Regions from separate parts of the Homo sapiens genome. Here all the other regions are linked to region 2. Evidence: promoter capture Hi-C in human tissues and cell types (Jung and others, 2019). All regions are on one chromosome and are shown on one strand. Each heading gives the region's core, a stretch centred on a gene start or on the middle of the fragment in contact. The rest is flanking DNA. Distances are from core to core; before and after follow the strand shown.

Evidence for each region. Contacts are between HindIII fragments. The study calls those that stand out against the background at their distance.
Region 1: a fragment that was not itself captured here is called in contact with the fragment with the promoter of DNAH17 in region 2 in 1 of the 25 tissues and cell types used here (neural progenitor cells).
Region 3: a contact is called between a fragment that was not itself captured here and the fragment with the promoter of DNAH17 in region 2, in 3 of the 25 tissues and cell types used here (bladder, pancreas and thymus).

What each region holds. Positions count from the first base shown.
Region 1 is chr17:78,710,151-78,713,776 of GRCh38, reverse strand. The region is part of intron 1 of CYTH1 (cytohesin 1); the gene reads left to right. Among named protein-coding and RNA genes, the nearest start is that of CYTH1, 70 kb to the left of the region's middle. The HindIII fragment of the contact is 4,206 bases long and covers 156-3,626 here.
Region 2 is chr17:78,576,040-78,579,419 of GRCh38, reverse strand. DNAH17 (dynein axonemal heavy chain 17) reads left to right here and starts at 2,024. Exons shown (of 81, transcript NM_173628.4): 1 at 2,024-2,125. The HindIII fragment of the contact is 13,821 bases long and covers 1-3,380 here.
Region 3 is chr17:78,726,987-78,730,614 of GRCh38, reverse strand. The region is part of intron 1 of CYTH1 (cytohesin 1); the gene reads left to right. Among named protein-coding and RNA genes, the nearest start is that of CYTH1, 53 kb to the left of the region's middle. The HindIII fragment of the contact is 3,980 bases long and covers 265-3,628 here.

The DNA of each region.
Region 1 (3,626 bases), core at 1,009-3,508, 130 kb before region 2:
GATTTCTTTTATACGATTGCTCTGTTTTTCATCAGCTTCATTATATGGACCTTGGATTTAGTCTTGCTTCTGCTGGGTAGATTGTGTCCATCCAGAAAAATTGTCATGTGTGAATATTAAACCCAGAATGGTTGAGTGCTCAGATTCTGAAAAGAAAGCAACGATTTAGAGTTTCCAGTTTAGAATGATACAAGTTGGCTTCTCAGGGTATATAGCAGTCTTGAGATAGGAATTTCTTTTATACGATTGCTCTGTTTTTCATCAGCTTCATTATATGGACCTTGGATTTAGTCTTGCTTCTGCTGGGTAGAGATACATTGATGATCTGATTAAGCCAGTTCTGTAGCTTCAAAATCAAATCCCAATTATTGAGCCTCTTGCGGAGCAGCTGTTTTTAAAAAATGAATGTTGCCTTAATTTCAAAACCATGTTATATTGGAATGAATATGTATCTTCTAGAACCTGAAGAAATTAATTTCTTAAAGGGGTCTTCTACTTGGACTAGAAATTTTTCTGGGCTGTGAAGCACAGAAAAATCAGAGTGAACTGCTTTAAACATGCGTTTCTGTAGAACGGTGTACGCATCAGTAGAGTTGATGTTGTTTTTCAAAACGGCTTTTGCTTTAACCAGAGCTCACTTATTTGTCTGACTTTTTCCTGAAGCAGCCATTTTAATATATATATATATATTTTTTAATGTTGGGAGAACTGTTCAGCCTGGGAAGAAACATTTGGGGTGGTGGGTTTGGCGGGGGTGCAGGGTTAGAATCCACATAATGCTGATGGATTGCTGAGCTGGAGTCCTGGGTCTTGACACAGGAATGGGACTGGAGAGCAGGTGTGTAGGTGAACTTATTTAAGGCTCCGTCCTCCAATACACACACCTGAGTGATCACCCTTGAGTTCTCAGGGACGCAGTTTAAGGCCCACTCTTGTGAAGGTGACCTGGGTTGGATTTAGTTGGTCTGTTGGGATCTTTAGAGTGGCTGTCTCTTCCAGCCTCTAAAGGAAGAGTGTTTTTCAAACCACAGGACTCAGTATATTAGGTAATTATACGATTACCTAATTGATTATGAAATAATTATTTTTTATTTTTTATATTATTATTATTATTATTTTTGAGACAGAGTTGTGCTCTTGTTGCCTAGGCTGGAGTGCAGTGGCACGATCTCAGCCCACTGCAACCTTCACCTCCCAACTTCAAGCGATTCTTCTGCCTCAGCCTCCTGAGTAGCTGGGATTACAGGCACCTGCCACCATGCCTGGCTAATTTTTTTTGTATTTTTAGTAGAGACGGGGTTTCACCATGTTGGCCAGGCTGGTCTTGAACTCCTGACTTCAGGTGATCTACTCACCTCGGCCTCCCAAAGTGCTGAGATTACAGGTGTGAGCCACCGCATGCAGCCATAAAATCAGTTTACTGGACTAAACCACTGTTAAGAAAGCTCACAGTGAAATAACAGACATGGTGAGATATTATTTTTGATACTTTTATGTATGGTGGAGATTGGGTCATGATGTAAAATGCATTTCTTTTCTTTTTCTGTTTCTTTCTCTTTTTCTTTCTCTTTCTCTCTCTCTTTCTCTCTCTCCTACCTCCCTCCCTCCCTCCCTCCCTCCCTTCCTTCCTCCTTCCCTTCCTTCCTCCCTCCCTTCCTTCCTCCCTTCCTTCCTTCCTTCTTTCCTTCTTTCCTTCTTTCTTTCTTGTCTGGCTCTGTTGCCCAGGCTGGAGTGCAGTGGTGCGATCTTGGCTCACTGCAACCTCTGCACCCCAGGCTCAAGCAATCCTTCTACGTCAGCCCCCCGAGTAGCTGGAACTACAGGCATGTGCCACCATGCCCAGCTAATTTTTGTATTTTTTTTAGTAGAGACAGGGTTTCACCATGTTGTCCATGCTGGTCCCAATGGGCTCAAGCAGTCTGCCTGGTTTGGCCTCCCAAAGTGCTGGGATTACAGGCGTGAGCTACAAGGCCTGGACTAAAATGCTTTTCTTATTTTGGATTTTGAGATGTTTAAAAAACACTTTTTTAGAGAAGGTTGGGGAAAACCTAGGTTAAAAAAAAAAAAAAAGGAAAAGTCGGCTTTTCTAATGTAGCTAATTAACCCACTGTACACTTCACTGTAGTCTATTGTTTCTACCCTCTTGTGATTTTTATGAAATATTTGGGGAAAGTAACTGCTCTGTGAATGTAGTAGATTAAGTTTTAATGCCATGGGCAGAAGGAAAGTATGTGTATCCTAACTGTGCTCTCAAGCAGAGATGTTAATTCCAACTCTATGCTGTCTAGAAATATAATATGAGCCATAGATGCACTTTTATTTCATACTAGTTCCTTTGAGATCAATTAAAATAATACATTTCATTAAGTTATATCAATGTGCAATCAATATAAAATATTATTAAAAAGTCATTTTCCTTTGTTTTTATAGAAAGTCTGGTGTGTGTGTGTGTGTGTGTGTGTATATATATATATTATTTATTTATTTATTTATTTATTTATTTATTTATTTATTTGAGATGGAGTCTTGTACTGTCTCCCAGGCTGGAGGGCAATGGCGGGATCTCGGCTCACTGCAACCTCCACCTCCCGGGTTTACGCCATTCTCCTGCCTCAGCCTCCCGAGTAGCTGGGACTACAGGCACCTGCCACCACGCCCAGCTAATTTTTTGTATTTTTAGTAGTGACGGGGTTTCACCATGTTAGCCAGGATGGTCTCGGTCTCCTGACCTCGTGATCTGCCCGCCCCGGCCTCTCAAAGTGCTGGGATTACAGGCATGAGCCACTGTGCCCGGCCTCGGTGTATATTTTTTACCTACAGCACATCTCAAACTGGGTGGTGACATTTCAAGTGGTTAATGTCACGTGGGGCTCCTGGCCGCCATATTGTACAGTGCAGCTCAGGCTCACATAGGCACCCACTGAAGGATAGAAGGACCCTCAAACCACCCCTACCCTTGAGAGTGTGGGTGCCCTTTGCTGTGCCATGGAGGGAACAAGAGCCAACACTTCTGAGCTTCTGCTCAGCACCAGGCAGGGTTTGAGGCACTTTAATTACTCTACATCATCTTCACAGCAGCCTTATCAAGTGGGTGATGGTGGGACCACTTCATTGATGATGAAATGTGACCCAAGTGGGTTACATAACTTGTCTGAAGTGACCTAATTTGATATTTGGTAGATTGGAGCTAGGATTTGAACCTGGTTTGTTTGATTCTAATGCTTGTTCTTCTCATTTGCCCACATGGCTTCCCATAGCATGCTTGAAGGGTCATTTTAGAGGGTGTCTGTCCAAATCTCCTGTTGGTATAGGTGGGGGAGATTGAGCCATTGGAGGATGGCAGAAGTATTTTGTGGTGAGAGCTGTGATCTGGGAATTAAGTAACTTTCTTCTGATGATAAGAGCACATTGTAAAACATCGAAACAATGAAGAAAGGTATGAAGCAGAAAGAGAAAGTCCCATAGTCCCAGTTCCCAGAGTTAAGCACTGATTTTAGGTGTATATTCTAGACTTTTTTTATTTCTCAGTGCATACATAGTCTCTTTCTCCAAACCCCTCCCAGAGATGGCACAAAATTGTTCGTACACGTTGCTTTGCCTCTTGCCTCCCCTCCCCACCTCAGGGG
Region 2 (3,380 bases), core at 775-3,274:
CCTCCCTAGCCCTTGGCAACCTCCATTCTACTTAATGAATTTGACTACTCTAGGGACCTCATTGAAGTTCATTTTACTTTGATTTGCATTTTCCTAATGGCTAATGATATCAAGCTGCTTTCCATGTGCATACTGGTCATTTGTGTATCTTTCTTGAAGAAATATCTATATCCTTTACTCCTTAAAATTAGGTTGTTTTATTGTATTACGACAAGTCCCTTGTCAGATATATGATTTGCAAATATTTTCTCCCATTCTATGGGTCATCTTTTCCCTTTTTTAGGGTGCCTTTTGAAGCATAAAAGTTTTTGGTTTTGATGAAGTTAAACTTATCTTTTTTCCTTTGCTCACTTATGCTTTTGGCATCATATGTAAGACATCATTGCCTCATCTGAGGTCAGATCAACTCCTGTGTGCTCTTCTAAGAGTTTTATAGTTTTAGCTCTTACATTTGGCTCTTGCATTCTGTTAATCTATGCTGAGTTAATTCGTGTAGATGGCGTGAGGTAAGGGCCCAGCTTCGTTTTTCCGCATGTGGGTATTCAGTTATTCCAATACCATTTGTTGAAAAGGTGATTCTTTTCCCATTGAGTTGTCTTGGCACCTTTGCTAACTCAATCGTCCATAAATGGATGCATTTATTTCTGGAACCTCAATTCTATTCTAGTGATCTCTGTCTATTGTTATGCTGGTAGCACTGTCTTGATAACTGTAGCTTTGTAGTGAGTTTTGAAATCAGGAAGTGTGTGTCTTCAGACTTTGTTCTTTTTCAAAGTTGTTTGGATGGTTTTTGTTCCCTCATACTTCCCTATAAAATCTAGGGTCATTTCTACAAAAAAGGCAGCTGAGAGTTTGATAAGGATTGTGTTGAATCTGCAGATCAACTTGAGGAGAACTGTCGTCATCTTAACAATCTTCTTTTTTTTTTTTTTTTGAGACGGAGTCTCACTCTGTCTCCCAGGCTGGAGGGCAATGGCGGGATCTCGGCTCACTGCAAGCTCCGCCTCCCAGGTACATGCCATTCTCCTGCCTCAGCCTCCTGAGTAGCTGGAACTACAGGCACCCACCACCACGCCCGGCTAATTTTTTTGTATTTTTAGTAGAGATGGGGTTTCACCGTGTTAGCCAGGATGGTCTCGATCTCCTGACCTCGTGATCCACCCGCCTTGGCCTCCCAAAGTGCTGGGATTACAGGCGTGAGCCATCACGCCTGGCCCGTCTTAACAATCTTCTAACCCATGAACACAGCATGTCCTTCCATTGATTTAGGTTGTCTTTATTTCCATGATGTTTTGCAGTTTTCAGTGTACAAGTCTTAACACTTCTTTTTAAAGTTTATTCCTAAGTATTTTGTTGTTTTTGACGCTATTGTAAACGAAATTATTTTGATGCTGTTGTAAATGGGAGTTGTTTTCTAAATTTCATGATCAGATTGTTCATTATGGGGACAATTGTTTTCTAAATTTCATCATCAGATTGTTCATAATATAATTACAGAGAAATATAATTAATTTTCAAATATCTTGTATACTGCAAACTTGCTGAATTCCTCTATTAGCTCTACAATTTTATGGATTTCTTGGGATTTTCTACATACAAGATCACCTTATTGTAAACAGAGATAATGTCTTCCTTTCCACTTTGGGAGGATTGCTTGAGGCCAGGAGTTTGAGACCAGCCTGGGCAACAGAGTGAGACCTCATCTCTACAAAAAGTACAAAAATTAGCCAGGTGTGGTGATGTGCGTCTGTTGTCCTAACTTCTCAGGAGGCTGAGGGGGGGGGATCACGTAAGCCCAGGAGTTTGAGGCTGCAGTGAGTTATGATTGTACCACTGCACTCCAGCCTGGGTAACAGAGCGCGACCCTGTCCCCCCTCCAACCTCCCCTCAAAATGATCATCTAAGAGCCTTTCCACTGTGGGGTGACGGTTGGTTCCTCATTTGCTGCGCTATCATTGGTTACTTGGGTCCCAAGGGGAAGGTTCTAGAAGCCCCAGGTACCGTGAGGAGACTCCCAGAAGTTATGTGGCAGTTGGAGCCCCTCGAGGGAAGGGAGCCATTTTCTTTCCTGGTTTGGGAAAGAGTTGCTCATCAGTTTGCGGGAGAAGCTGTTTGCCTTCAGCTGGTGAGCGGCCTTCAACCATGCTGGGGGAGTCGGAGGCCAAGGTGGAGGGAGCAGGGAGGCCTTCAGAGGATGGAGGTGGGACCTAGGCCCTGGCAGACAGCAGACCCTCCACTTACCCCAGAAGTGGCTCTGCTCGCCACCGGGAGCTGTTCATGGCTCTGGGACCCCGAGGCTGGCTGCCACGTACCAGCCTGACCCCTTCCAGGGCTCCAGACTCTTCCCTGCTCCTGGGAAGGCCTTGCCTCAGCCCCCTGGCTTCTCCTGGAAGCCCCTAGCCCCAGCTTCCTCCTGTGGAGTCCTGAAGGCCTGGGGCATGGGCCACCTCCCAGAGAAGCCGTCTCTGCCCCTCCGGAAGCATGGCCTGGGACAACCCTATTGTTAACTGGGACCTCCTGGCCTTCAGCCCAGGAAACGGCTGGGTGGGAGCCTGAGATGAGACCTCCCGATCGTGCAAGAAACTTGCGGGGTGTAGGGGCCCCTCAGCCCACACATGTTATGGCTTGGGAGGCAGCCCACCCCATGCCGTTCTTGGAAGAAAAGATGACTTTGTGAAAGCCCAAATCCACAAAATCAGTAAACCAGAGGATGTTTCCCTCCAGTCCAGTCGCCTGACCAGCTTGGCGAGACTTCCAATCAGGAACCTTCCAGGACTCGGGCTCCCCTGAGTTCCTGATCCCCCTAGGAAATGACGACGTGACGCGTCCCCGGGTCTCGGAGATCCTGGGTGGAGATTAATTCAGCAGCATGCTGAAAGCCCTGTGGGAACCTGGTGAACGAGTCATCTCCATAAATGCCACGCGGTGCTCCTCCTACTTGCCTGGTGGTGTCCCCTTTTTCTTTCACAGATGTGCCTGAATCGGGTGGCTTTGCTCGTGGACCGCCATGTTTCTGCCATTTGCTGGCCAAATATTCCCCAAGTCCTCTCTCAGAGATGTTTGGAGCCTTGAATAAATCTCAGACCATTTGAATAGCATCCAAATGCTATCCACTACTGCTTCCCATCATATAGTTGTTTTGCCGATATATAGTGGCCAGGGTGAAATAAACCTGTTCCGTGGTATTACGTGTCTTTTGGGGAACTGTAGGCTGTTACAAACTTAAAAGCAATAGCTTGGGTCAAACCAAAAGGCAGAATTTGTGAGTGCTTCCAACGTCATCTGTCCACCCTGATGCTTTTCAGCAGCTGCCAGGTCTGGAGCAGGCCAGCCCCAGCCCACGGACCCCCAGAGCAGCTGAATACCCCAGGGTTCCCCTT
Region 3 (3,628 bases), core at 1,005-3,504, 150 kb before region 2:
CATGGAAGCTCAATTTCTGACCTAAAAAAAGATGCAGTGAATTTCTTTTTTTGAGTCAGTGACTGTTGTTTTTTTTTTGAGACGGAGTCTCGCTGTCGCCCAGGCTGGAGTGCAGTGGCGTGATCTCGGCTCACTGCAAGCTCTGCCTCCCGAGTTCACACCATTCTCCTGCCTCAGCTTCCAGAATAGCTGGGACTACAGGCACCCGCCACCATGCCCGGCTAATTTTTTTTTTTTTTTTTTTTGTATTTTTAGTAGAGATGGGGTTTCACCGTGTTAGCCAGGATGGTGTTGATCTCCTGACCTCGTGATCCGCCCATCTCAGCCTCCCAAAGTGCTGGGATTAAAGGCGTGAGACACCGCGCCCGGCCTAGTCAGTGACTATTGACGCCTTTCCTTCTGGTGTCTAAAGTCTCTTTCCCTTTGTGTTTTCTGTGAAGAATTGGGATTCTGAGTCACAGAATTCAGACGAGAGACCACATACGAAATCACAGCAGAATGGGTGTAGTTACAACAGGCACTTCATGGGCATTAAAACAGAATCCAAGGATGTTTCTTCTATAATAGAAATATTGGGCCAGTCTGAGCAAATATAAGTGGCTGGGGGCATTTCTGTATTTTCTTTGAATAAAAACTTCAACATCAAATTTTGTGTTAGTTGTGGATCCAGATATACAGATAGGCAGAAGAGGAAGAGTCCAGGCCTCCCCCACTCTCTTTCCACAGTCCTTGCTTTGAAAGGTGATTCCTGCTAGCAGTTTCAAGTGTGTCCTTCTCAGAAGCTCCCTGTGTGTTTAGCAAGCGTAGGTGTTACTTGTGAGAAGGTATTCTGTGCCATCCTGTTTCACCAGATGTGTCTTAGAGATCTTTTCATGTTAGCATTTACAAATCACCTCATTCTTTTAAATTACCAAGTAGTTTTTAGGTAGTTTAAAATTTTTGGAATTTGGGGAGCATATCCACTCTTAAGTGGAATTTAAGAATCAAATTCATAAGTTTGATTCAAATCAAATCAAAAGGTGTGTGCTCTTTATGTTTTGCTAGTGCCAAAAGGTTGTACCAGTTTACACTCTCCCAGCAGCACGGGAGACTGCCTGTGTAGCCCACTCCCCTGACAGTATTTCGTCTCATCTGGCATTCTGATTCCTGCCAGACTAATGGAAAATGGTATGTTATTCATGTTTTAATTTGCATTAAACACATAGTGACTGTGAGCATCTTCTTCTGTGTGACCATTTGTATTTCTCTTTTTGTAATCTGTCTTTTATATCCTTTGCTCATTGTATTCATCTTTGCTTTACTAATTTTTATGCTGCTTTCTTTGTGACTTAAATAAATTAACCCTAGCCAGGTGTGGCACATACTTATAGTCCCAGCTATTCTGGAGGCTGAGGTGGGAGTATCGCTTGAGGCCAGGAGTTTGAGGCTGCAGTGAGCTATGATCACACCACTGCACTCCAGCCTGGGTACAGAGTGAGACCCTCTCTCTAAAAATAATAAGTTAATTAATTTAAAAAAAGATATTAACCCTTTGTCATATGTTTTGTGAATTTATTGTCCTAGTTGTTTACCTTTTAGCTTATGGGATATTATTTTTCACTCAGAAGCTTTTCATTTTCATGTCGCAAATGAGCAGACTCACCAATATTATGACTATACTAATTCATGCTCTATTCTAGAATTATTCAGGTTTTATTTTACATTAACATCTTTGATTAAGCTAGAATTCATTTCAGCTTAGTTTTATCCCAAATGGCTAGCTGGCTATTTATTTGCTCAGCACCCTTGACTGAATAATCCTATTTTTCTTTACCGATTCAAAGTGCTACGTGTGTGTTTCAGTATTTCTTGAGTTTGTTTTCTGGTCTTTTTCTTCCGTTGCAGTTTCAATTACCAAAGCCTCACGTGCTTTAATCTCAGGTAGCTACACCCTCACGTTACCCTTTCTCCCTTTCATATTTTTCTGACTATTGTCATATATATTTTTTCCCATGTGAAGTTTAATATCCTTTTTATTATATTTCTGTAAACATCATGTTGGTAATGTAAATAATTTTTTTTTTTTTGAGATGGAGTTTCGCTCTCATTACCCAGGCTGGAGTGCAATGGCGTGGTCTTGGCTCACTGCAACCTCTGCCTCCCTGGTTCAAGTGATTCTCTTGTAATACCAGCCTCCCAAGTAGCAGGGATTACAGGCATGTGCCACCACACCTGGCTAATTTTGTATTTTTAGTAGAGATGGGGTTTCACCATGTTGGTCAGGCTGGTCTCAAACTCCTGACCTCAAGTGATCCACCCACCTCGGCCCCCAAAAGTGCTGGAATTACAGGAGTGAGCCACTGCACCCGGCGTAAATAATGTTTTTAAACATCGTGGTGTATGTACGAGAACTTTGATTACTGGGGTCTTTCTACCTTTGCTCAGGTCCCCTTTGTTTTCCATGTTTCTTTTTCCTGTCTAGATGAGAGGCTGGCCCTGCTGCAGGAACCAGCCTGGCTTGGGGAGGATTTACCAGTGTTTGGGGTAGAATAGAGTTTGTCCAGAGAAACTGACTATATCGTGCCACCTAGAGGTGGGCATCCATTTGTCGTGGAGGGAGGCCATAGGACACCTGCATGATATCAGGGACTCACTGCCCTCTCATGGGTCAGCACCTCTTCAGCTAGTTCTGGAGTGGGTGTGCTGCCCTGGATCTCAAAGGTGCAGAGCTTGGCCTGCCTTCTGCTCCTCCTCACTGCTCTCCTTGGCTGCCCCTGCCATAGGTCTCGTCTTTCTTCCTCCTACAGTTCTGCCCCCTGCATGGGCAGGAGATAGGGGACGGTCCAAGAGCAGCCTCATGAGAGCAGCCAAGACAGAGAAGAAGAAGCCTGCCCTCCTAACACACTGAGTTGGCACCAGAAGGATGCACTCGCCAGGAGGCTTGGGTCGGCCGTGCCTGCTCCAGCCTTGCCCTGCTGGTAGGTGGAGGCAGGGGGCCAGTATCCTGGACCTTCCCGCGACTTGGAAGGCTGGTGCCCTAGTCAGCTCCTTCTTACACCTCTCCCAAACTTTTGCAAACCCGGACTCGGGGCAACTCTGGTAAGGGTGATGTCTGGAACAGGGAGCCAGTTTGTTTCTATTTTGAGGTGCAGGTAGAAATGACCTTCCTTTCAAGAGATCTTCAAGGACTTCTCAGAGCAGGAACAGATGCCAGTTTTTGCTTCTTTGAAGAAGATTTTATGCTCCTAGCATTTACTAAAGAATAATGAGGCATTTTTAAGTGTAAGGAGTGGAATAGAATTTAAAGAAAAAAGTAAAAAAAACCCCAGGCCTCTGTTTTCATGGGACACAGAAGGAGGGGAGATTGAGAATGCTGACTCGCCTAAAAGCTTTATGCTTATCATGTCTGTGGTGCTTGGAGCCTGTGGCCCAGGTGATTTGGGGTTTGGGGACGCCTCATGGGCAGAGAGGACCTTTGAGCAGCATTGTGAATTCGTGGGTTTGGGATGCTGATGAAACTGCGAGATTTGAATGTATTCCTTGTGCCTCATTTTCCGCTTTAGAAATAAAATGATTGATGCACATTGCCCTTGCACGCTTGTCAGAGGGTCACTTTCTGGTTGCACCTGTCCTTGAGCCTGAGAGAGAG